Regions from separate parts of the Homo sapiens genome. Here regions 2, 3 and 4 are each linked to region 1. The links are contacts of gene promoters, found by promoter capture Hi-C in blood cells and fetal thymus (Javierre and others, 2016). All regions are on one chromosome and are shown on one strand. The core of a region is centred on a gene start or on the middle of the fragment in contact, and the rest is flanking DNA. Distances in the headings are between cores, read along the strand shown.

Evidence for each region. Contacts are between HindIII fragments. The CHiCAGO score rates a contact against its expected background, and 5 or more counts as called.
Region 2: a contact is called between a fragment that was not itself captured here and the fragment with the promoter of CHP2 in region 1, in 1 of 17 cell types (megakaryocytes). The highest score is 5.3, in megakaryocytes.
Region 3: a contact is called between a fragment that was not itself captured here and the fragment with the promoter of CHP2 in region 1, in 1 of 17 cell types (total CD8 T cells). The highest score is 5.1, in total CD8 T cells.
Region 4: a contact is called between a fragment that was not itself captured here and the fragment with the promoter of CHP2 in region 1, in 1 of 17 cell types (naive B cells). The highest score is 5.3, in naive B cells.

Annotation. Positions count from the first base shown.
Region 1 is chr16:23,752,643-23,758,285 of GRCh38, reverse strand. CHP2 (calcineurin like EF-hand protein 2) reads right to left here and starts at 3,260. Exons shown (of 7, transcript NM_022097.4): 1 at 3,170-3,260; 2 at 2,553-2,625; 3 at 2,359-2,439; 4 at 2,093-2,223; 5 at 1,837-1,898; 6 at 963-1,085; 7 at 1-756. The coding sequence starts at 3,236. The coding sequence ends at 703. RefSeq lists an enhancer at 2,727-3,372. The HindIII fragment of the contact is 3,392 bases long and covers 2,376-5,643 here.
Region 2 is chr16:24,023,432-24,029,325 of GRCh38, reverse strand. The region is part of intron 3 of PRKCB (protein kinase C beta); the gene reads right to left. Among named protein-coding and RNA genes, the nearest start is that of MIR1273H, 180 kb to the left of the region's middle. The HindIII fragment of the contact is 8,464 bases long and covers 1-5,894 here.
Region 3 is chr16:24,066,345-24,072,753 of GRCh38, reverse strand. All of the region lies in intron 5 of PRKCB (protein kinase C beta), which reads right to left. Among named protein-coding and RNA genes, the nearest start is that of MIR1273H, 130 kb to the left of the region's middle. The HindIII fragment of the contact is 1,514 bases long and covers 4,403-5,916 here.
Region 4 is chr16:24,046,563-24,052,560 of GRCh38, reverse strand. All of the region lies in intron 5 of PRKCB (protein kinase C beta), which reads right to left. Among named protein-coding and RNA genes, the nearest start is that of MIR1273H, 150 kb to the left of the region's middle. The HindIII fragment of the contact is 2,349 bases long and covers 135-2,483 here.

The DNA.
Region 1 (5,643 bases), core at 2,011-4,510:
TTTGCAACTAAAATATTGCTGGCTGATTCACAGCTCTGAGACCAAATGAGATAGACCTGGTGTGGGGTCTGTGGTCTGTTAGGAACCGGGCTGCACAGCACAAGGTGAGCGGCAGGCGAGCTGAAGCTTCATCTATATTTACAGCCACTCCCCATTGCTTGCATTACCGCCTGAGCTCTGCCTCCTGTCAGATCAGCAGTGGCATTAGATTATCATAGGAGCCCAAATCCTACTGTGAACTGCACACCAAAGGATCTAGATTGTGCACTCCTTATGAGAATCTAATGCCTGATGATCTGTCACTGTCTCCCATCACTCCCATATGGGACCGTCTAATTGCAGGAAAACAAGCTCAGGGCTCCTGCTGATTCTACATTATGGTGAGTTGTATAATTATTTCATTATATATTACAATGTAATCATAATAGAAATAAAGTGCACAATAAATGTAATGCACTTGAATCATCCCAAAACCATCCCCTGTCACCCATCCGTGGAAAAACTGTCCCTGATGCCAAAAAGGTTGGGGACTGCTGAGCTAGACTTTAGTACACATCCTTCCAGCTTTCTTCTCTTGGCCCTAAATAGAGTTAGAAACGAAAATACAGTTTATTGTCGCCCTGCGTCCATGCGTCCATGGGGGCTTTGGATGAATTCCAAGGAGATACTGGTTGCAGGAGCAAGCCCAAGGCACAAACGGAGTCACTTCAGGATCCGGATGCTCATTTTTTGCTCAACGTCCATCTTCTCTAAGGACTGAGGGAAAAACAAATGGCAGGCAAGAGGCTTGACTCTCAGCTCTCCATGCTCCCAACCTCCTCCCCCAGGGTTCTACCCATTCCAGAGACCCCATCATTCCCAGGCAACCCCTATCTTTCCGCCCTCCTCCGTTGAACGTTTCCCAAGTCTGTCTGCCCCAGAACTCCTGATCTCAACTCCCCAATCCCCAAGGGCACTCTGACCTTGGTGAACTCCACGAAGGACACAGCCCCATCCCCATCTTCATCAGCCTCCTGCACCGTGCGGTCAGCGATGTTCTCCAGCTGCTCTTCTGTCACCTGTACCCCAACCATCAGACGGAGAACCTGAGAGATGAGTGAAGAGGCAGCCATAAGGAGGGGGCACGAAGGCTGCAACTCCCCATCTCCTAAACCTTGCCCACCTCATCCCAAAAGTTATTGCTAATTTTATAATCCATCCTTCATCCATTTTTCACCATATCCCCCAATAATTTTCCCTACTGCTTCAACAACCAATCTCCTATCTCTCCCTCACCATCCTGCACTACCCTCAAAATATGCTCAAACTCATTACCCAACTTTATCACCCAACCTCCATCCATCCTCCACACCATTCTCCACCTTAGCCACTAAGGGTTTCTAATTCCATCCTCATTCCATCACATCTGTTCCAGAGTTTCTCAATCTTGGCACTGTTGACATTTGGAGCCAGGTAACTCCTTGTTGGAAGAGGCTCTCCTGGGTATTGCATGATATATAGCCACATTCCTGACCTCTACCCACTAGATGCCAGTAGCACACTCTCTCCCCCATTGTGACAACAAAAAGCATCTCCAGATATTGCCAGATATTCACTCAGGGAGCAAAATCACCCCCAGTTGAGAATCACTGATCTATTCCCAACCTCATAGTCAACTGCTCCCCACTCCGACTCCCAACAAACCCACACTCTAACTGCACCCATTCCCATTTCCCAACCAATACCCCAATTATCTGCGCCCCAGTTCCCCAATCATCCCACCCCATCTCTCACACCATTGCATTTAACCATCCCATCCTTCACACATCACATCTCTTGCTCTCGCTTTCTGCCAACCTGCAGCATCTCATGCCTGGAGATCTTCCCATCGCGATCCAGGTCATAGAGCTGAAATGCATCTGGGGAGAGGGTGGGAGGGGGAAAGGAAGGTAGGTCTTCCCTGGCTCTCTTCCAGCAGCCACCTTCCTTCCCCCCACCTTGGAGGAGGGGGGAGGTTGTCAATGCCCTCAGGAAGGGAGTGGGAGATCCCTGGAGCCTGTCCCTGGTGTGGGTACATCTGCATTCTCACTTGTGCAGGTCCTCACAAACTCACAGTGAAGTTTGTTCCTTCTGCTGTTGAGAGGTTCAGGTTTCTTGGGGTCTTGGGTTTCTGTGTCCTCATCTTCTACAGGGCGAAAATGAGCCAAGACCCTGACAAAGCCTGGGAAATCCACTCGCTGGCTCCTGGGGAGACGGGACAGAATGGAAAGAGGTGGTGGTCACCTTGGCCATCACTTTGCCTCCGTCTCTAACCTCCCCTCCCACCCACTCACACACCGGTTTTCCCGCCTTCACCTCCCCACGCCCAGCAAGCCTCACCCATCGGGGAAGAAGCTTTCTATAATTCGGTCTCCCAGGGGGTTCACGGCGAGCGCCCCTATCTGCTGGAGATCCATGCGGCTGCAAAGCCAAATTTCAAAGAGGGTAAGGCAGAGATGCCAGACGGAGGGTCAAAGAGGGACATGGAGTCAGAGAGACAGAGGCCAGAAGTTATGAGGCCGGCTCCCCCTCACCTCAGGTAGCCCTTCTTATTCCTGTCCAGTGCCCGGAACCGGTGGTGCAGGCGGAGCAGGCTGGCTTGGGAGACTGCGGGAAGGAGAGTGGGGTGGGGGTGTGTGACTCTGCAGGGCCAGCTCCAGAAACCCGCCCCAACAGGCCAGGAAGATGGGCCAGAACAGCGGGGGCTGGCTGGAAGGGGCGATCATCCCGGGGAATCAGGGGTTGAGCTGGCCGGGGCGGAGGGAGAGTGACACGACCCCGCGAAGATCCAGGTTCAAGACCCGGGCGGCTCGCAACCTCCCGAAAACCAAAGAACCAAAGCCATCCCTTCCAACCGCCGTCAGCTCTGCCTTCAGCTTCGAGCCGGGCTGGAGGACACCTGGGTGCCTGGATTCCTCTGGACTCCGACCCCGTGAACCCGGATCCTCCCCAGACTTGGAGGCTGGGACCCCTAGGTTAACCCGCCCCTAACCCAGCGATCCCAGGCACAGGGGCCTTGGTCTTCCAGCTCCGGGGAGCCCCGGACCCCAGACTTGTAAGTTCGTCCATCCTTCAACCCAACCCCTTCCCTAGCCCCAGACGCCTGGGTTCGCCCCGTCCCCTCCGCAGCCGCCGACGCGGGCGCACTCACAGCCGGTCTCTCGCCGAATACTGTCCCCGTCGGGAATGACCGCGGCGTGGGAGCTGCGCGACCCCATGGCCGAGCTGGAGGCGGAAGGGCCGGAGCAGCCACCCGGACCCACGCGTTCTCTCCTCCCGCCGGAGAGGCGTGGCCGCCCCAGTGGCCCCAGGGGGACGAAGGCCACAAGCCTGGCGCGCGGCCAAGCTCCAGAACCCCGGCGTGCCTCTCCTCCCACCCGCGACCCGGGCGAATGGAAAACAATGTGCAGGGTGGCGGGTCAGAGGGAGGCTGCGAACAACGGGCTGTTTCAGCTCCGAGATTTTGCGATCCGCACGGGAGAGGCTGGTCGAGTCCCAGGCCCCGCGTTTCCACGCCTCCCCCGGGGCCGGTTCCCACGGTGCGCCCTGACACCTGAGCCACCTCCTCCTTCGCGGGCCCCGGGCGCTCCCAACCCCAGGGCGCTCCCCGGCGTCGACGCTGAGGAAGCCTGGGAGACCTGACCTCCTCTGTAGAGACCACGCCCTGCTGGAAGGCGGGTGGCCTATGGGGAGGGAATCCTGGGGGGAGGGGGGAAGAGGCATCGAAGAACTCCCAAAGACGGGGAAGTGGGGAGGGGCGGCGAGATGAAGGGTGTGCGTTAGGTTAAGTGGAAAGAGCACTGGTTTGGGAGTCCTTGTTGGAATCCCAGCCGTGCCCGTGACTCTGGGAAAGTCAGTAAATCTTGGTTTCATCCCTTTTGTTCGGTTCACATTGCCTTATTGTTGTTTAATTGAGCCAATGCTTAAAATTCAGGAGATTTAACCCAAAATCCACATTCTTGGCTTTTCCTGAGAAATCAGAAGTTCTATCACCACCAGGCCCAGAGCTGTCTTCTGGCCACAGTCCCTCCAAGCCCAATTCACTCCCTTAGGTACCTACTGATCCCGTAGAGCTCCAGACTGGGAATGACTTAGTCCTCTGAACAGCCCTCCAGAGCCATGGGACTCCTTGGCCCAAGAGAGGGTTACAGACATCACTGGGACTAGGCTTAAAGCAAGAATGACAACAAGGGCTCTTGTTTACCACGCTTTGCTAAGCACTTTACGTGCATCCGTTCACACATTCCTTGTAGGCCCTGCTGGGCTGCTTTCTTCTAATTTTACGTGGTGGAGGCTGCCGGGGGCAAGTTGTGAACTAATTATGTAAAGCGTGCATTCTCAGTGCGGTCTCTATCTCACCCCAACGGGGCAAAAAATAAAACATATTTTTTATGTACAAAGCACAGCATACATACAGCACATAAATAGATATACAGTATAGCTGTGATATTGAAATTTCAGGGCAGACGTGGAGGCTCATGCCTGTAATCCCAGCACTTTGGGAGGTAGAGGCAGGAGGATTGCTTGAGCCCAGGAGCTCAAGACCAGCCTAGGCAACATAGTGAGACCCCATCTCTACAAAAGAATACAAAAAAAAAAAATTAACCAGGTGTCGTGGCACATGCCTGTAGTCTCAGCTACTTGGGAGTCTGAGACAGGAGGATCACTTGAGCCCAGGAGGTTGAGGCTGCAGGGAGCCATGATCACGCCATTACACTCCAGCCTGGGTGACAGAGTGAGACCCTGTCTTGAAAAGAAAAGAGGCCGGGCGCGGTGGCTTATGCCTGTAATCCCAGCACTTTGGGAGGTCGAGACGGGCGGATCACCTGAGGTCAGGAGTTTGAGACCAGACTGACCAACATGGAGAAACCCAGTCTCTACTAAAAATACAAAATTAGCTGGGCGTGGTGGTGCATGCCTGTAATTCCAGCTACTCGGGAGGCTGAGGCAGGAGAATCGCTTGAACCCGGGAGGTGGAGATTGAGGTGAGCCTAGATCGCGCCATTGCACACCATCTTGGGCAAAAAGATCGAAACTTGGTCTCAAAAAAAAAAAAAGAAAGAAAATAAAATTTCATGGGGTAGGGGTGAGGGTGGGGAAATTAAAAAGACTAGGGGAGGCGTTGATAATGAAAAAAAAACAGGTCGAGAAACTCATTTGTCAAGGGACAAACACTAGAAGTGTCCACTTTTGAAAGTATCTTTAAACCGTTTCCCCCATCATAATTGCACATACATACACAAATTTCCCAGGGGGGAAAACATGCAAGCAGTTCATTGCAAGGGCTCAAGTTCATATCCACCCTGGAGAGAGAGAAGCTGAAGAAACAGTCTATCCTCCAGCCCCAGGCAGAGGCCTGCATCAGATAAGTCTTGAAAATATTGATCTAAGAAGTGCTTGCTTCTTTCAGATACCCCCAAGGATTAAGCAACTGGCATAAGGAATGCTTGATTCTCTTTCAGACTCCCCCCAAAGACTAAGCATGCGGGAAACCACACTCCTCCCTAATGAAGCCCAGCAATCACTGCAACCCACAGCTGTGAGTCAGGCTGTGCATGTAGTTTGGGTTCAGTTCTGAACCCAGGAGGAGATGAGAGCCCTAAGAAGCTGTGATAAGCACCGCAG
Region 2 (5,894 bases), core at 1,858-4,357, 270 kb before region 1:
AAGATTCAATTGCCTCCACCTGGTCTCTCCCTTGACATGTGTGGATTATGAGGATTACAATTCAAGATGAGATTTAGGTGGGGACACAAAGCCTAACCATATCACATACCTACCAGAGTTGCTAAAATGTTTGAAAACTAAAACCAACGATACCAAGTGTTAGTGAAGAAAGAACATAAACTGGAACTCTCCTAGGACCCAGGAATCCTACTTTTCGGTGAAATGAAAACATCCAGGCCGGGCACAGTGGCTCACGCCTGTAATTCCAGCACTTTGGGAGGCCGAGGCGGGCAGATCGCTTGAGGTCAGGAGTTCGAGACCAGCCTGGCCAACATGGAGGAACCCTGTCTCTATTAAAAATACAAAAATTAGCAGGGTGTGGTGGCACATGCCTGTAGTCCCAGCTACTTGGGAGGGTGAGGCACGAGAATCACTTGAACCCAGGAGGCGGAGGTTGCAGTGAGCCGAGATCGTGCTACTGCACTCCAGCCTGGGTGACAGAGAAGGGGAAAAAAAAAAAACAACAACCATATCCATACATGAAGGTTTATAGCTACCTTACTTATAATAGCCCCAAACTGGAAAGGACCCAAATGTCGTTCGACGTGTGAATGGATACAGTGTGAGGCATCCACACAGTGGAATACTTTTCAGCAGTAAAAAGGAATGAACTATTGACACATGCAGCAGCATTCATGAACCTCGAAAGGATTCTGGTAAAACAAAGATGTTCAACACAAGTGTAGGTTCATTTCTAAATGTTCTGAAAAACACAAAACTATGGGGACAGAAAACATCAGTGGTTAAAAGGGGTTGGAGGTGGATAGGGAATTAACTAAAAAGAGGCAGATGCAGCAACTTTTTTGTTTTGGATATTGGAGTGGTCTATATATTAACTGTGATGAATTTTACTTTATATTTTTAAAAGTGAATTTGTGGCCTGGAGCAGTGGCTCATGCCTGTAATCCCAGCACTTCGGGAAGCCGAGGTGGGTGGATCACCTTAGGTCAGGAGTTCAAGACCAGCCTGACCGATATGGTGAAACCCTGTCTCTATTTAAAATACAAAAATTAGCTGGGCATAGTGGCATGCACCTGTAGTCCCAGCTACTTGGGAGGCTGAGACAGAAGAATTGCTTGAACCCAAGAGGCAGAGGTTGCAGTGAGCTGAAATCATGCCACTGCACTCCAGCCTGGGCGACAGAGCAAGACTCCATCTCAAAAAAAAGAAAAAAGAAAAAAAGTGAATTTTGCTGGGCACAGTAGCTCATGCCTTCAATCCCAACACTTTAGGAGGCCAAGGCGGGAGGACTGCTTGAGCTTGAACCCAGGAGTTTGAGATCAGCCTAGGCAACACAGTGAGACCCTGTCTCTACTATATATATGTATTAAAGCCAGACATAGTGGTGCATGCCTGTAGTTCTAGCTACTAGGGAGGCCAAGGTGGGAGGATCACTTGAACCCAAGAGTTCAAGGCTGCAGTGAGCTATGATCACGCCACTGGACTCCAGCATGGGTGGGAGAGCAAGACCCTGTCTCAAAAAAAATTGTTTAAAGTGACTTTTACCACAGGAAACGTATGTCTCAATAAACCTGACTGAAAATCCTCAGCCACTGCAGACTTCGGTTGCTTCTTATCTTGTTAATGAGCTACAAAGTTTCTTTCACAACGTTCCCACCCTCTGCAGTCAGGCAGATGAAGTACTCGTCCAGAGCACTGGACAGCCAAGTTTGAGAAGCGAGGTCTTTTCTGCTGTCGCCAGTGGGACCCTGAGTGCTCTCAGCTACAAAAGGACCCCAGCAATCATCTGTCCTGCTCAAAGATTGAGGTGCCGTCCTAGTAACAACAACAGGGCTTGGAAATCCACCCCCCAAAAAACTAAGGGATCCCTTTTGGCAGCTTAACCAGCCATGTCTCTATCTCCGGACAATGAGACTAAGTGAATACATAAGGTTCCTATCAGAGTCCCCCTGCTCTGTGCCACAGAACAGTTCCCATTGTGCTTCTTGGACATTCACCTTAAAGTTGGGAGTTCAGTGCTTCAAACCCACCTAAAAAGGAACACCTGTTCGAAAATCAAACACCGCATGTTCTCACTCATAAGTGGGAGTTGAACGATGAGAACACATCGACACAGGGAGGGGAACATAATACACCTGGACCTGTCGGGGGGTGGGGGACTAGGGGAGGCATTAGGAGAAATACCTAATGTAGATGACAAGTTGATGGGTCCAGCAAACCACCATGGCAGGTGTATACCTATGAAACAAAACTGCACATTCTGCACGTGTACCCCAGAACTTAAAGTATAATAATAATAAAAAAGGAACCCCTGTTCATGACTGGTATTGGCCTGTAGGAGAAGCTCCAGGTTCTCTTACACCCCTACTTAACCTCTAAGGAGGCAGAGTTGATTTAATTGGATGGATTCCAAGACACGGATTGGCCAGACCCCAGTGGTGGAGCTCGCATGGAGGTTAAAAGGCATCCTTGCCATCTTTCTCTTCTCCTTCTCCCTTACATCCTTCACTTCTCCCAGGACGCTACTGGGTCCAAGTCTTATAGTATTGCCCTGAGACCCTTGGTAGAAGTGGCCTGAGCCAGCTCCTCTCCAAGACCTAGGACACATTCTGTCTCTACTCTTGGCTCTTGTGGTCCCTTCTGGTTTCTCTGATATATTGATCTTACAGAGGCCAAGAGTTAGGTTTGAGTTCAGGTTTGAATTTCCTTAGTCCTGCCTAGTAGAGAAGAAAGGAGTTCCTCAAGGCCTTGTGAGCTCTACTTTAAGATCTGGGGCAAAATCACAACTAATAATAAGTTGCCTCTGTTGGTTTTGCACTTTTCTTCATGTAAATATTTTCTTGAGCGATCTCCAAGACAAGGATTCAAGCATTTCTGACCAAAAATGATCCAGACCTTTCTCCATATCAACAGTCTCTTAAACAAGAGGAGATACCAAGAAGCACAAAGAATGGGAAGGGAAAAGGAAACACATTTCTGTGTTTGTGTGTGTTTTGTTTTTTGTCTTGTTGAGACAGGGTCTTGCTCTGTCATGCAGGCTGGAGTGCAGTGGTGCGATCATAGCTCACCGCAGCCTCTGCCTCCCAGGTTCAAGCGACCCTTCCACCTCAGCCTCCTGAGCAGCTGGGACTGAAGGCACATGCCATATGCCTGGCTAATTTTTATTTTTTGTAGAGACAGGGTTTTTGCTATGTTGCCCAGGCTGGTCTCAAACTCCTGGGCTCAAGTGATCTGCCTGCCTCAGCCTTGCAAAGTACTAGGATTACAGGTGTGAACCACCACACCCAGTCTCAACACACTGCTTGAGAGCTACATGTGTACGCTGGGTGTCTCACATGTACTCTCTCCAATCCTTATGACATGCCATGCAGAAGGTATCATTTGTTCCCATTTTAGCAACAATGAAACAGATCCTAACTACAGAGTAACTTCACCAAGGCCACCCAGCTGGACCCTTGCAGAGATGGGGTTCACACCAAGTTCCCCTCCCTTCTCTCCTCACTCCCAACTTTACTCCATTGACACCTCATCTTCATGTGCGGCTAAGATAGAACTTGACTCATTCGTTCATTCACCTAGCAAATGTATACTGAGGGTCAAGTTCTTCCTAGGCATTGGGGATACAGCTGTGAACAAAAGAGCTTCTGCTTTCATGGAACTTATATTCTAAATCCTCTCCATCACGGCACTTAAACCACTGACTTATAAATGCACGCTTAATTGCATCTCTTCCACACTTCACTGCATGCAATGTGAGGAAATTTTGCTCATCATTATACTCTCAGGGCATAAACTGTACTTGGCATACAGAAGATGCTCAATAAATACTTAATAAGTGAGAGTTAACATTTATGGAACATTTATTCATGCCAGGGACTATTTTAAGGGATTCATCAGGCATTAATGCATTCGATCCTCATAACAGCCCTATAAAGTACATACTACTTACTACCCCTGTTTTACAGATGAGGAAACCGAAGAACTAAGAGACGAAGTGTTTTGCCCGTGGCAAGCACAGCATTGCACACAGTGGTCAATGGGTTGTTGTGACAGCTGTAGGGCTGCAATCATCGCTGTTGGCCACTGCAAACCCCTGCACCATAAACATGCTATTTTAGGAAAATGACTTAGAAGGGGCTGTGCAGCACAGATTAGAGCCAGATGAGAGACAGGAAAACCAATCGGCAAGTTGCAGGGAAACATTGACTTCTTACGGCTTATTTAGAGGCTGCTGGAGAGCTCCTCTGACCTCATTCCCCTCCCTCCGCTTTCATGAGGGATCATACTTGTAGGCACCAACTCTACCCACCCACTGCCCCAATCCTTCAGACCAGACAAACCAGGTCATCCTCAGTGGATTCTTCCCTCCTCCTTCCTGCTACCTGAAAGAGCTTAAAGCCACACTCCTACACCTGTGGTCCTCATGACTCCCTCCACGACCCTCAAGGTGCATCTTTCAGGGTACCTTTCCATGCCTGCCTGAGCCCAATGCCATCTCTGAGATGGGCACCTCCCAAAAGCCATGCTTGTACTTTGAGACATCCACATTCCCTGAACACAGCTGACTGGGGCAGAGGTGGACACTTGGCTCAAGGGTCACATATGCTGAGTGGCTGGGACACAGGTAATCAGTCCTGAGGCCAGCAGACATACAGTTCCAGGGCTGAGGCTGCTAATTTTATATTTGATTGACAAATTATAATTGTATGCATTTATGGGGTACAATGTGATTGTTCTGATTGTTCTGAATATACACACACAATGTGGCATGATTAAATCAAGAAAATTAACATATCCATCACCTAACTTGCCTATCATTTTCTTAGCTTGAGATATTTGAAATTTACTCTCTTAATTACTTTGAAACATACATATTATTGACTAATGTCACCCTGCTGTGCAATAGATCTCAAAGGCAATTCCTCCTATCCGAAACATTGTACTCTTTGCTCAGCAACTCTCCATTTCTTCCCTACTCCTGCCTCCTGCTGTCCCCCAGCTTCTGGTAACCATCATTCTACTCTCTACTTCTGTGAGTTCAACTTCATTAGATTCCACATCTAAGTGAGATCATGCAGTATTTGTCTTTCTGTGCCTGGCTTATTTCACTTAGCATAATGTCCTCCAGGTTCATCCACATTGTAGCAAATGACAGTTGGTGCTGATTTTTATGGTGCGCTCTGAGGAACCTGGAGAAACAAAGACAAAGACTACATGACCCCAGGGATGAAGCTCCTGGTTCTGGTCCCTGGGGTTCTGGCATCCTGCCTTCCAATTCCATCTGCCTCCCTGTGTCCTCTAAAATTTGTCCTTTGTGCTTCAGCCAATCCAGGTAGGCATGTTACCTACAACCAGGGGTGAGTCAAGATATCTATAATTGCCTTGGCTCAGGGACTGCCCACAGACCAAACGGAATGGACAGCAGAGCCTGGCTGTGCTGGGAGTTAGCACTCTAGTCACCACGTCATGGAGGGGGTGTGGTAGGAGCTGGCAGAGGCAGATATGGGTAAGTGGAAGGTTGGGGGAAAAGGCCCAGAGGACCCAGTGGCTATTTACCCATCGGTTTCAGAGTATTTCAATATTTCCACCACTGGTACAGTAGTGCCAGGGCATGCAGGTTAAATATCAGTCCTGCCTGGCCGGGTGCGGTGGCTCACGTCTGTAATCCCAGCACTTTGGGAGGCCGAGGCTGGCGGATCACGAGGTCAGGAGATCAAGACCATCCTGGCTAACACGGTGAAACCCCGTCTCTACTAAAAATACAAAAAATTAGCCGGGCGTGGTGGCGGGCGCCTGTAGTCCCAGCTATTCAGGAGGCTGAGGCAGGAGAATGGTGTGAACCTGGGAGGCAGAGCTTGCAGTGAGCCGAGATC
Region 3 (6,409 bases), core at 3,910-6,409, 310 kb before region 1:
AAAAATTAGCTCGGTCTGGTGGCACAGGCCTGTAATCCCAGCTACTTGGGAGGCTGAGGCAGGAGAATTGCTTGAACCCAGGAGGCAGAGGTTGCAGTGAGCAGAGATCATGCCATTGCACTCCAGCCTGGGTGACAAGAGGGAAACTCCATCTCAAAAAAAAAAGAGAGAGAGAGAGAAAGAGAGAGTTAAAGAAAGCAGATTGGCTGGTTGTGGTGGCTTACACCTGTAATCCCAACTCTTTGGGAAGCTGAGGTGGGAGGATCACTTGAGGCCAGGAGTTGGAGACCCCCATCTTTATAAAAAATAAAAATAATAATTATCTGAGCATGGTGGTGCATGCCTACAGTCCCAGCTACTTAGGAGGCTGATGTGGGAGGATTGCTTGAGCTCAGGAGTTCCAGGCTGCAGTGAGCTATGATCGTACCACTGCACTCCAGCCTGGGTGACAGAGAAACACCCTGTCTCAAAAAAATTAAAAACAAAAGCAGATTGATGGTTGCCAGGGGCTGGGAGAAGGCAGGGATGGGTAGTCACTGCTTAATCAGTATGGGGCTTTATTTTGGAATGATGGAAATGTTTTGGAACTAAATAGCAGTGGTGGTTGCACAACACTGTGCATGTACTAAATGCCGCTGAACTGTTCACTCTAAAACAGATCATTTTAAGTCATGTGAATTTCACCTCAGCAAATTTTTAAAAACAAAAGGCGGGGGTGGGGTGGGGGTTAAACTCTATCCAAATTGCAATCAGCCCATAAACAAGTAGCAAACTGAATTGGGCACCCTCATGATAATAATAACATCCTTGCTGAGATCCTGGAGCAGGGCCCAGTGATGCCGACGACCCCTCCAGAATGTGTCCACTGTGATCATTAACTCCACAAAGGCTTGGGCATGGTTACTGCAACTCAACGCCCTCTTCGGCCCCCACCATAACTTTCAGCCTTTCCTGCACCATCTCCTTATATGGTGTAGGCCAGACTCCAGCTAGCCTTGGCTGCCGGCTGTTCCCTGTAAGATCCTGCCTCCATAGGAGGAGACAGATGGGATCTAGTGTCCAGGACCACATCCCACAGCTACTGCCCAGAGACATGTGCAGAGCGGACAAGCCAGGCAGGTACTCACTCTCTTTACTACCCTAGGACCTTTACCCCCAATCACAAGTAGAACCACTGGCCCTGTTGAGTTGAGCTAGACTAGCATTCTCAATTCTGGATCCACATTAAAATTGGTGGAAATTGGAAGGTTGGACGGGCTCCTCTTATTCCTTTTCCCCAGTCCTGTTTGTCTTTTTTTTTTTTTTTTTTTTTTTTTTAGACAGGGTCTCACCATGTTACCCAGGCTAGTCTCAAACTCCTGAGCTCAAGCGATCCACCCGCCTTGGCCTCTCAAAGTGCTAGGATTACAGACGTCAGCCATCGTGCCCGGCCATGTTTTGTTTTCAAGGCAATGCAGAGAAGAGGTAGCTCAGGCTCCTCTTACCATACCAGATATGCAGAGTTCTGAGAGGTCTGAAGGCAGAGTAAGTCTCAAATGGAAAGCCAAGAGAGAATGCTTAGGGTATATCATGAAGACGAGGTCATTAAGCTCCTCCCCTATCTCTGAAAGCCCCAAGAGCAGCATCCAAGTCCTTAACTCACATCCTCACATCAGCCCTGGAGTGGAGGGGGGCTTTGAGCTCCCTCTTCAGGTCACAGTGTGTACTAACTACCCTTTGTCCAGATGGTTCCCTCCCTTGCCTTTGGCCCAAAGCTCATTCATCCTTCTAGTTAGATCTATAAGGCCACCTCTTCCCAGAAGCCTTTCCTGACTTCATCTGACCCATCACAGGATTTCTTCCTTTCTTATCTTCAGTGACACAGTATACTTTAGAGAGATATGTACTTGCTTTACTTGTTCTGCTATATTAAATAGAGCTCCTTAAGGGAAGGGACTATGACTTCCTAATTTTTCTGGCCAAGGGCTTGGCCTCAGGATCAAACAGACCTGAGTTTGAGTTCAAAGTGATACCACTTCCTGGCTGCGGAGGCTTGGAGGATTACTTAACCTCTCTGAGCCTCAGTTTCCTCATCTGTAATATGAGAATAGCAACAGTGTTCCCTCATAAGATGGCTGAGAGGGCTGAGGAGCTATATACTTCATGCTATTATATGCGTTGTAATGACTGCAACCTATTTTACACTCAACAACTCCTAGTCATTATTATTATTCTGTTCTATTAGGTGCCTGGGATACTATTTTCTATATATTTCATATATACTTAATAAATGATTTTTAAATGTCATTAAATTCCCTGGTTTCAAGGCCGGGCGCAACGGCTCATGCCTGTAATTCCAGCATTTTGGGAGGCTGAGGCAGGCGAATCACTTGAGGTCAGGAGTTTGAGACCAGCCTGGCCAAGATGGCAAAAATCCGTCGCTACTGAAAATACAAAGATTAGCCAAGAGTGATGGCACATGCCTGTAATCCCAGCTACTTGGGAGACTGAGGCACAAGAATCGCTTGAACCCAGGAGGCAGAGGTTGCAGTGAGCCAAGATCGTGCCACTGCACTCCAGCCTGGACGACAGAGCAAGACCTTGTCTCAAAAAAAAAAAAAAAAAAATCCCCTGGTTTCCTGCAAGATGAAAAGCTTACCATCACAGGGCCCCAATCCCAGTGTAAGTTAACGTCCCTTCCCTGGTTGCCCAGGACACCTTGCACTCGTGTCTGGCACAGCAGTCCTAACACTTTGCTGTAATTATCCATTTATTTGTCGTATTGACAGTGGTGACGCCATAGCCCAGCACAGTGTGAGCCACACACTGAAGGAAGGAAGGAATGGCCATGAATCACGTCATCTCGGGAGTACCCGTTGGGAATGGAGAAGAATCTTAAGACCTCCAGCCCAGAGAGAATATACAGGTTTTGTGATTTGTTCTAGGCTCTGATGATGTCATGACAATAACAATGACAACTTTTATTGAGCACATACTATATGCCAGGCACTGTTTTGTTTTGTTTGTTTTGTTTTGATACAAAGTCTTGCTTTGTTACTCAGGCTGGAGTACAGTAGTGCAATCACGACTCACTGCAGCCTCAACCTTTGGGGTTCAAGTGATCCTCCCACCTCAGCCTCCCAAGTAGCTGGGACTACAGGTGTACGACCATGCCTGACTACTTCTTAAAATTTTTTGTAGAAATGGGGTCTCACTATGTTGCAGGCTGAAATCAAACTCCTGGGCTCAAGCAATCTTCCCACCATGGCCTCCCAAAGAGGTGGGATTACAGGCATGAGCCACCACGCTCAGACCCAGGCACTGTTTTAAGCACTCTATACACAGCACAGCACTGCTCGTCCCCAGTGCTCAGCCTCTTCCGGGCCAAACTTCAACGTCTCACTCTGGGAGGCAGGAATCCAGCAGCTGAAAGAAGTCAGTCTTACATGATTTAAAAACAGGCTGTTCTGAGGCCATCTGCTTCATTTGCCCCAGGACATGGGGACTGGACCAAACTGTCCTCTAACACGGCACCTCCTGCATTTCATGTACCCTTATCTGATCTAAAGCCACTTTCTATACCAAATTAGTCAAGTGTGATGGTGAGGAGCTTAAACCCAGAGATCCTGGCAGATCAGCTCTGCCATAGAGCAGCTTTGTGACCTGAAAGTTACCTAACTTCTCGGTAACTCAGTCTCCTTGTTTAAAAAATGGGGCTAATGATAAGGATGTTGGCTCATAGGAATGTTACAATCATTATAAATTAATAGAATGTCTGGCATATGGTAAACATTCACTATGTGCTACTTTGTTATTATTGGCTCTTATTTTATATCGCTGTCTCCATAGTGTTCTAGCAGAATGCTTAGCAACCTTTACTTCACTATCTTCACTCCCCAAAGTTCTCAGGGTCCCCTACCAGGATCTGAAAGAAATGAGGATTCCTCACTCTATCACTGATGCTCACAACACCCTTCTTTAAAAATAATTTTCTGAACCAAACAAATATTACCTTAGATCTTATCCCAAAATTAAATAAATGCTTTCATTTGTATATTCACCTTCTGGTCTTTTTCCATGTTAACATTCAATTTTTACATAATTATACCACTCTAAATCTATTTTGTATTTTATATTTTTATTTAATATCATACCACTTGGGGCAATGATAAAGTAGCTCTCCCACTGAGAGCAACTATAAAAGCCAGATAAAAAATATTTTTCAAGAAACTGGAATTTTGAAGGAATTAGAATTAAGATAAGTCCAATATTCTGTGTGTGGTTTTTTTTTTTTTTTCCTTTGGGCCATAAATCAATTCTCAACACAGGGCAAAGGACTAAGAAGCTAGACAGAGGGCACCTGCTAAGAAGGAGGGAGGCCACCAGAGCTTGAAGCTTATTCTTGGGGCTAGGAATCAAAGCTTCCAGGGAAGGCAGGACTTGAGGGGCCAAATCATAGTGGGAGGGGAAGAGCAGAGAAGTGAACTCAACGCTAGGCATTGATTTTTCTCTTGAGTCTCTACCAATCACACTGCAGAGGTTGAGACACAAAACAGAAATCAGCTGAGAGGTTTTGTCAGGCTTATGGTGCTAGAGAAACAAAAATTGGGGTTCAGGACCCAGTTAAAAGGAGGGCCCTGGCAAGTCTTCAGCCTCAGAGTTGGAAACCTCTACACCATAGGAGTGGAAATGAACCAGAAATAGAACAAACCTTACGAAGGCTATAAACCAGCACACAGTGAGCTCGATCACCACCAGAAGGGTGACCCCAACCTGCATGGAAAATAACCTCTTCCTCAGCTCTCTCTCTCTCTCTTTTTTTTTTTTTTTTTTGAGACGGAGTCTCGCTCTGTCACCCAGGCTCACTGTAACCTCCGCCTCCCAGGTTCAAGTGATTCTCGTGCCTCAGCCTCCCCAGTAGCTGGGATTACAGGCATGTGCCACCATGCCAGGCTAATTTTTGTATTTTTGGTAGAGATGGGGCTTCACTATGTTGGCCAGGATGATCTCAAACTCCTGATCTCAGATGATCCACCCACCTTGTCCTCCCAAAGTGCTGAGATTACAGGCATGAGCCACCACACCTGTCCAACAGCTTTCTAATTTAGCAAGGAATCATCTGAAATTCAAACAAAACTTCCAAACATGCCAAGAAATAGGACCAGAAGCAAAAAACACCTAGGCGTGGTGATGCATGCCTGTAATCTCAGCACTTTGACAGGCAAACATGGGCAGACGGCTTGAGCTCAGGAATTCAAGACCAGCCTGGACAACATAGTAAAACCCCATCTCTACAAAAATACAAACATTAGTGGGGTGTGGTGATACACATCTATAGTCCCAGCTACTCAGGAGTCTGAGGTGGGAGGATTGCTTGAGCCCAGGAGGTAGAGGCTGCAGCGAGCTATGATTGCACCACTGCACTCCAGCCTAGGTGACAGAATAAGATCCCGTCTAAAAAATTTTAAAAAAACAGACAAGAGGGCAGATCCATGGGTGATTCAGACACTGGAATTATCAAACATGAACTTTAAAATAACTTATTAAGATGTTTAAAAGAAGGGAGAAAGGATGACAATGTGGAAAGTTTCACCAGAGAACTATTGGTTACAAAAAAGAAACTGACTGGGTACAGTGGCTCACACCTGTAATCCCAACACTTTAGGAGGCTGAGGAGGGGTGATCACTTGAGGCCAGGAGTTCAAGACCAGCCTGGGGCAACACAGCGAGACCTCATCTCTACAAAAATTTTTAAAAATTAGCCAAGCTCAGTGGCATGCACCTGTGGTCCCAGCTTCTCAGGAGGCTGAGGTGGGAAGATTGCTTGAGGCCAGGAGTTCAAGGCTGCAATGAGTGATGATTGTGCCACTGCACTCCAGCTTGGGTGACAGAGCAAGACCCTTGTCTCAAAATAACTAAATAAAGCAAATGAAAGCTTTAGAATTAAACATACAATAATTCCCAAGTGGATGGACATTCTACCAGATACTTGACCAGTACTTCTCAAAACTGTCAAGGTCATGAAAAATAAGAAACGATTGAGAAATTGTCATAAACCAGAGGACACTTAGGAAACATGACAACTTAATGTAATTTGGTATCCTACATGAGATCCTGGAATACACTAAGAATATCGTGAAAAAAAAAAGGAAAATCCAAATAAAGTTTGGAGTTTAGTTAACAATACAGTACTAATTAGTGTTAACATCTTCATTTTGACGGATGTGTCATGGTCATGTAACGTGTTAATAATGGAAAACTGAGTGAAAGGTATACGGGAAGTCTATCCTCTGCAACTTTTCTGTACATCTAAAACTATTCTAAAATAAAAAGTTTATTTAAAATGCAATACTTAAAATTAATAACTCAATGCATGGCTTAGCAGCAGATTGGAAGCAGTTAGAAGGCAAATCAGTGAGCTGAAAAACAG
Region 4 (5,998 bases), core at 60-2,559, 300 kb before region 1:
GAAAACTCATGAAAAATCCACCCCTTTTTTAGCATATAATCAGGAAATGACCTCAAAAGTGGCTAGCCAGCAGCTTTAGGGCTGCTCTGCCTGTGGAGTAGCCATGCTTTATTCCTTTACTTTCTTAGTAAGCTTGCTTTGACTTTATGGATTTGCCTCGAATTCTTTCTTGCAAAAGACCTAAGAACCTCTCTTGGGTTCTGGATCGGGATCCCTTTCTGGTAACCGGAGTGTGAACACACCAGCATTCTCTGGGGACCTGTTAGAAATTCAAATTCTCATTCTTCAATGTCTACTGAATCAGAAACTCTGAGGGTGGGGCACTCTCTAGATGATTCTGATGCAAGCTCAAGTACAGGACATTGCTTTTCATCCTCAGCTCTCCAATGCACATTGGCATTTTTAACTATGCCTATCCTATTTTGATAAAATAATTAAATAAAATAGTCTAAGGTCTATTAATTTTATGTCTTTTTTTTTTTTTTTGAGACGGAGTCTCGCTTGCTCACTGCAACCTCCACCTCCCAGGTTCAAGCGATTCTCCTGCCTCAGCCTCCTGAGTAGCTGGGATTACAGGTGCCCGCCACCATGCCCAGCTAATTTTTGTATTTTTAGTAGAGACAGGGTTTCACCATGTTGGCCAGGATGGTCTCCCTTTCCTGACCTGGTGATTCACTCGCCACCTGCCTCAGCCTCCCAAAGTGCTGGGATTACAGGCGTGAGCCACTGTGCCCGGCCTCTTTCCTTGAACTCCTGGATTCAGTGATCCTCCTTCCTCAGTCTCCTGAGTAGCTGAGATTACAGGCATGCTGCACTACCATGCCTGGGTAATTTTATTTTTAATTTTTTTTAGGGACAGGGGTCTCACTATGTTGCCCAGACTGGTCTCAAACTCCTTGCCTCAAGTGATTCTTCACCTCAGCCTCCTGAGTCTCTGGGATTACAGGCATGAGCCACTGCACCTGGCTCTATTTTCTGTATTTCTGATGCTTTGGTGTCTCGGAGCCTTGCTGACCCTGGAGAAACTGTCTGTCCCAGGGCTAGCCCATTCCTAGAGACAGTAAAGAACTCACCTGCAAGCGCACCTTTCATATGCAAACCAACCAATCCAAAGCCCAAACCTCCAACCAACTCCTTCATGGGGCTCTTACACTCTGGGCCAGCCTGTGCTAATTACCCCAGGTAAAAGCACCAGGTATCAGGTACCAGGCAACTAGAGAGACAGCCTCTACACCCAGAGTCTGCTGAGATCATTCAAACCAGCCAGCCCTAAGGCTGGTTTCCCGCCCTACCTGCTCCTTCTCACAGAAACAGCAGCAAATGCTCCTGCCACGTTTTCTTTCCGCTTCCTCTGCCTCCTGGCAGACCCTGCTGCTTCCCTGTGTGGCCTTTCATGGAGTGGCACGCCTGCTCCTCATCTATGAGTAATAAACTATCTTTTCAAAAGTAAGGAGGGCAGAACAAGTAGCACAGAGAATGGTGTGAGGAAGGTGATGTCCGGAAGACACTCGGCACAAGAACAGGAAGACCCAAAAGCTCTCAGCCTGGCCGTGGAGCAAAAGGCCAAACCCTACAAGATGAAATGCATCAGGTTTCATCCTGGAGTCTCAAAAAAAAAAAAAATCTTGCACAAGGATGTGGGGCCTGCAGGCTAGCAGCACCCGATGTGATAGACAAGAGAGCTTTAACTGATCATAAACCCAAGATAAGTCAACAGTGCAATGTGGCTGGTGGTACCCCCAGACCCCCCAAAAGAGTAGTATCATCTCAGGATGCAGAAAGAGAATTTTGTTGTCTAGGACAGTGTTTTTCAAGCGGCGGGTCATGACACATTTGCCAATTGTTAGTGAAATCAATTTGCAGAGTAAGAGCATTTTCCTTAAAGGGTTTCTTAAAGGAAATAGAATGGAAATGAACAGAAAAGAGGGCCACAAAAGAGAGGAGAATGTATCAGAGTGTGTGGTGAGCATAAGTAGAGGTAAGCATTAATGGCAGTTTGGTTTTGGTTGTGAGTGTGTGCTTGTTTGTGCAATGTGTGTGTGTTTGTGAGTTTGTGCTTGTTTGTGCAGTGTGTGTGTGTGTGTGTGTGTGTGTTACATAAAACCTAGATGGGCTGGAAGCCGAAAGGTTTGAAAACAGCTGATCTAGAATAAGGAAAGTGACAATCCTTCGCTCCTCGGCAACACAGGTGGATTCTCTTTCACTCTGGGCACCCTGCTTTATAAGGAAGCTACTCCAACTGGAGTGTTGTCTAGGAAGAGTTCCGGGTTGACATCAATGATGGCATACTCGGCCCTATCATGTGTTTGAGGTTGTGGGCTGTGGATTAAGGATTAGAAAGTAAATGGCTGAAGGAGTTGGGGCTGCCTCACTTGGGAATTAAAAGATTCTGGGACACCTATGAACCATCTTTGAATTAGTGGAAGGCTGTCAACATACCTGTACTGAGTTACCCAAGGGTGAAACCAGTGCCTGTAAAAGCTTCATGAAATTCATCAATATCTATGTCAGCAGCTCAACGTGCTTGGCTTCTTGGATCCCCTACCAACTCCTACTTGTCCACCTGCACCACTGCTCTTCCTCTGATTCTCAATTCACCCCTCCAGATCTTCCCGTCTCCAGCATCTCCAAGCTTGTATAAGGTCTAACGTGTACAGTAAATCCCTTATTCCATGATGCTTATAGTGACTCTGATTCCCTGAGCGATACACAGGCGTGGGCTAAGCACCCACAATGCTAAGGTGGGAAGTTGATTCTGCTTCCTCCCATGTACACAAACCACTTTGTTTCTGGAGTTTTCCAGTGTAACCTGAACACTCTGTGAGCATCTTTGCATTTTTAAGTGAGAACACTTTCTTAGGATACTGCTGTGAACTTGGTTTTATCCCTCTCTTTCTCTCAGCTTCTAGATGTTCCCTGGGCCACTCAAGGAGGCAGACCAGGGTAGTAGTTAAGGGTGCAGGTCCCGGATGATGCTAGAGTAGTGGTTAAGCGTGCATGTCCCAGATGTGCCAGGGTAGTGGTTAAGGGTGCATGTCCCGGTTGTGCCAGGGTAATAGTTAAGGGCACATGTCCTGGTTGTGCCAGGTTAGTGGTTAACGGTGCAGGTCCTGGATGTGCCAGGTTAGTGGTTAAGGTTGCAGGTCCTGGATGTGCCAGGGTAGTGGTTAAGGGTGCAGGTCCCGGGTGTGCCAGGGTAGTGGTTAAGGTGCAGGTCCCGGATGTGCCAGGGTAGTGGTTAAGGGTGCAGGTCCCGGATGTGCCAGGGTAGTGGTAAAGGGTGCAGGTCCCGGATGTGCCAGGGTAGTGGTAAAGGGTGCAGGTCCAGGGTGGGACAGGGTTGCCAGATTCACATAACCCATTCCCTGGTCCTAACACAGGGAGGTTTGGAGAGAAAGTCTTCTCCATCCACCTGCTTCTCACAACCTAGGAATTTATTCAGCCTCTTGGGCAGATCTTGGCCAGTGAAATCTGTCTTTCTGCAAAAAAAAAAAAAAAAAAAAAAAAAAAAAACAGGCCAATTTGAAGAAATGTTATCATCTTCAGCCTCACAGTCCAGCAAACACTGACTCTCATACTCCCAAAGGAGCAAAACAGGCTAGCAGGAAGTGTTGGGGAAAATGGAGTCATATGAAGCAAAGTCTCAGTTTCCTCACCATATAATGGAGAGAAGGACTACGGGTAATAGCAAAAGTTGTTAGGAGGATTACCTGAAGGAACGCTTGTAGAGTTCCTAGCAAAAGCCAGGCATTTGGAAGGGTTTTAGAAAAGGTGGCTGTGGCTGGGCACGGTGACTCACACCTGTAATCCCAGCACTTTGGGGGGCCGAGGTGGGCAGATCATTTGAGGTCAGGCAGCCTGACCAACATGGTGAAACCCTGTCTCTACTAAAAATACAAAAAAATTAGCTGGGCATGGTGGCGCATGCCTGTAGTCCCAGCTACTTGGAAGGCTGAGGCAGGAGAATCGCTGGAACCAGGGAGGCGGAGGTTGCAGTGAGCTGAGATTGTGCCACTGCACTCCAGCCTGGCGACAGAGTGAGACTCTGTTATAAAAAAAAAAAAAAGAAAGAAAAGAAAAGAAAGAAGTAAAAGTGGCTGCTACTAATATCATGTATCATCATCACTCCACTGATGTACTTAGTGCCAGGATAAGACGGTGTCCAAGAGCCTAATTATCTGGAATGGCATAGTTAGATTCAAGTCCCAGCTCCACATCTTCCTAGTTGTGTGGCTTGGGCAAGTTATTTAACCTCTTTCTCTGTGTCTCAGTTTCCCCATCTGTAAAATGGAGATGCCCTCAGTAACTCTCTCCCACCCAAGTAGCTGGGACTACAGGTTGTTGATAGGATTATACGACATGGCTGAGCAACGTGCTTCGCCCAGTGCCTGGTGGTTACTATCAGTAAGAGGTGTCCGTCCCTTGGTTTTGTTGGTAGTGGTAAAGCAGATGGAACCCAACCAGACAGCGAGGCTGCTCAGGAGCTGCGACTGCATCTTGCACAGGCTTTTGTGCCCCACGATGGCTAGCACTGTGCTGGGTTCACAGCAAGGGCTCAGTAAGCGTCAGCCACTGGCCCTCCTCCCTTCCCTCACCCTTCTAACTTATGCCTCTCCTGCCTTCTCCAGGGCTACCTGGAATGCCTCCAGCCCACTGCTCCCTCCCTTCTCTAAACTCTGATCACAAGAAAGATTCTGACCCCACAGTGCTGGGGCAACAGGCAAATGAAAAGCAGGTCTTCTCCAAGACCTTAAGGCTAAACTAGTCCCAACCTGTGCCCTAAAGCCACTGAAAGATAAGACTATGAGAACTACCAGTGCTGAAGCATCTCCTTCCTCTCCCCACTGGTATGGTGGGTGTTTCTTATGTTCCAATGTCTCATAGTCTTAAACTGTATCTTTCCAACATCTGACTTAATGTGTTAGAACCTGCCAGACAGATGGACCCAGGGTACAAATCCAGCCTCCTCCATGCACTGCCTTAGGGACTAGAGGCGGGTGCTCAAATTCTTTTTTTTTTTTTTAGAAGGAGAGACAGGGTCTCGCTCTGTCGCCCAGCCTAGAGTGCAGTAGCGAGATCATAGCTCACCGCAGCCACCAACTCCTGGGCTCAAGTCATCTTCCCGCCTCAGCCTCCCAAGTAGCTGGGACTACAGGTGCATGCCTCCATGTCCAGCTAATTTGTATTTTATTTTATTTTATTTTATTTATTTATTTTTTGAGATGGAGTCTCACTCTGTCACCCAGGCTGGAGTGCGGTGGCACAATCTCAGCTCACTGCAACTTCTGCCTCCCGGGTTCAAGCGATTCTCCTGCCTCAGCCTCCTGAGCAGTTGGGACTGCAGACACGCACCACCACGCCCAGCTAATTTTTTTTTTGTATTTTTAGTAGAGATGAGGTTTCACTATGTTGACCAGGCTGGTCTCGAACGCCTGACCTTGTGATCCACCCACCTCAGACTCCCCAAGTGCTGGGATTACAGGCATGAGCCACCGCACCCTGCCTACCCAGCTAATTTTTAAGACTTTTTTTCTCACTGTGTTGCTGAGGCTGGTCTCAAACTTGTGGCCTCAACTGATGATCCTGCTTCAGCCTCCTGAGTAACTGGGACCATAGCCACATGCTACCACACCAGGCTCAGATTTTTCAAGGCTCTGTTTTCTCCTTTGTAAAATGAGAAAAACAAAATGACTGCCCCCACTGGGTGGTTTTGGGGCCTAAACACACTGACCTTGCATGATGTCCTTCAGATACTCCTGGGATCTAAATTTCCATGCACTTAGAAAGAAACCAAGCCCACCATGGGGCTCACAAAGCCTAACTGGCTGTCCCTGCCTTTCCTCCAGCGTCACCCACCCCTCCCCATCCCGAGGCTCCAGTCACACCCACTGGCTGTCAGTTCCTGTCACTCACAAGCCTGCTGCTTCACTCTTCCCTCTGGCCTCTGCCTCTGCCGCTCCCTCTGCCTGGTATACTCTTCCCTGGAATTTTCAGCAAG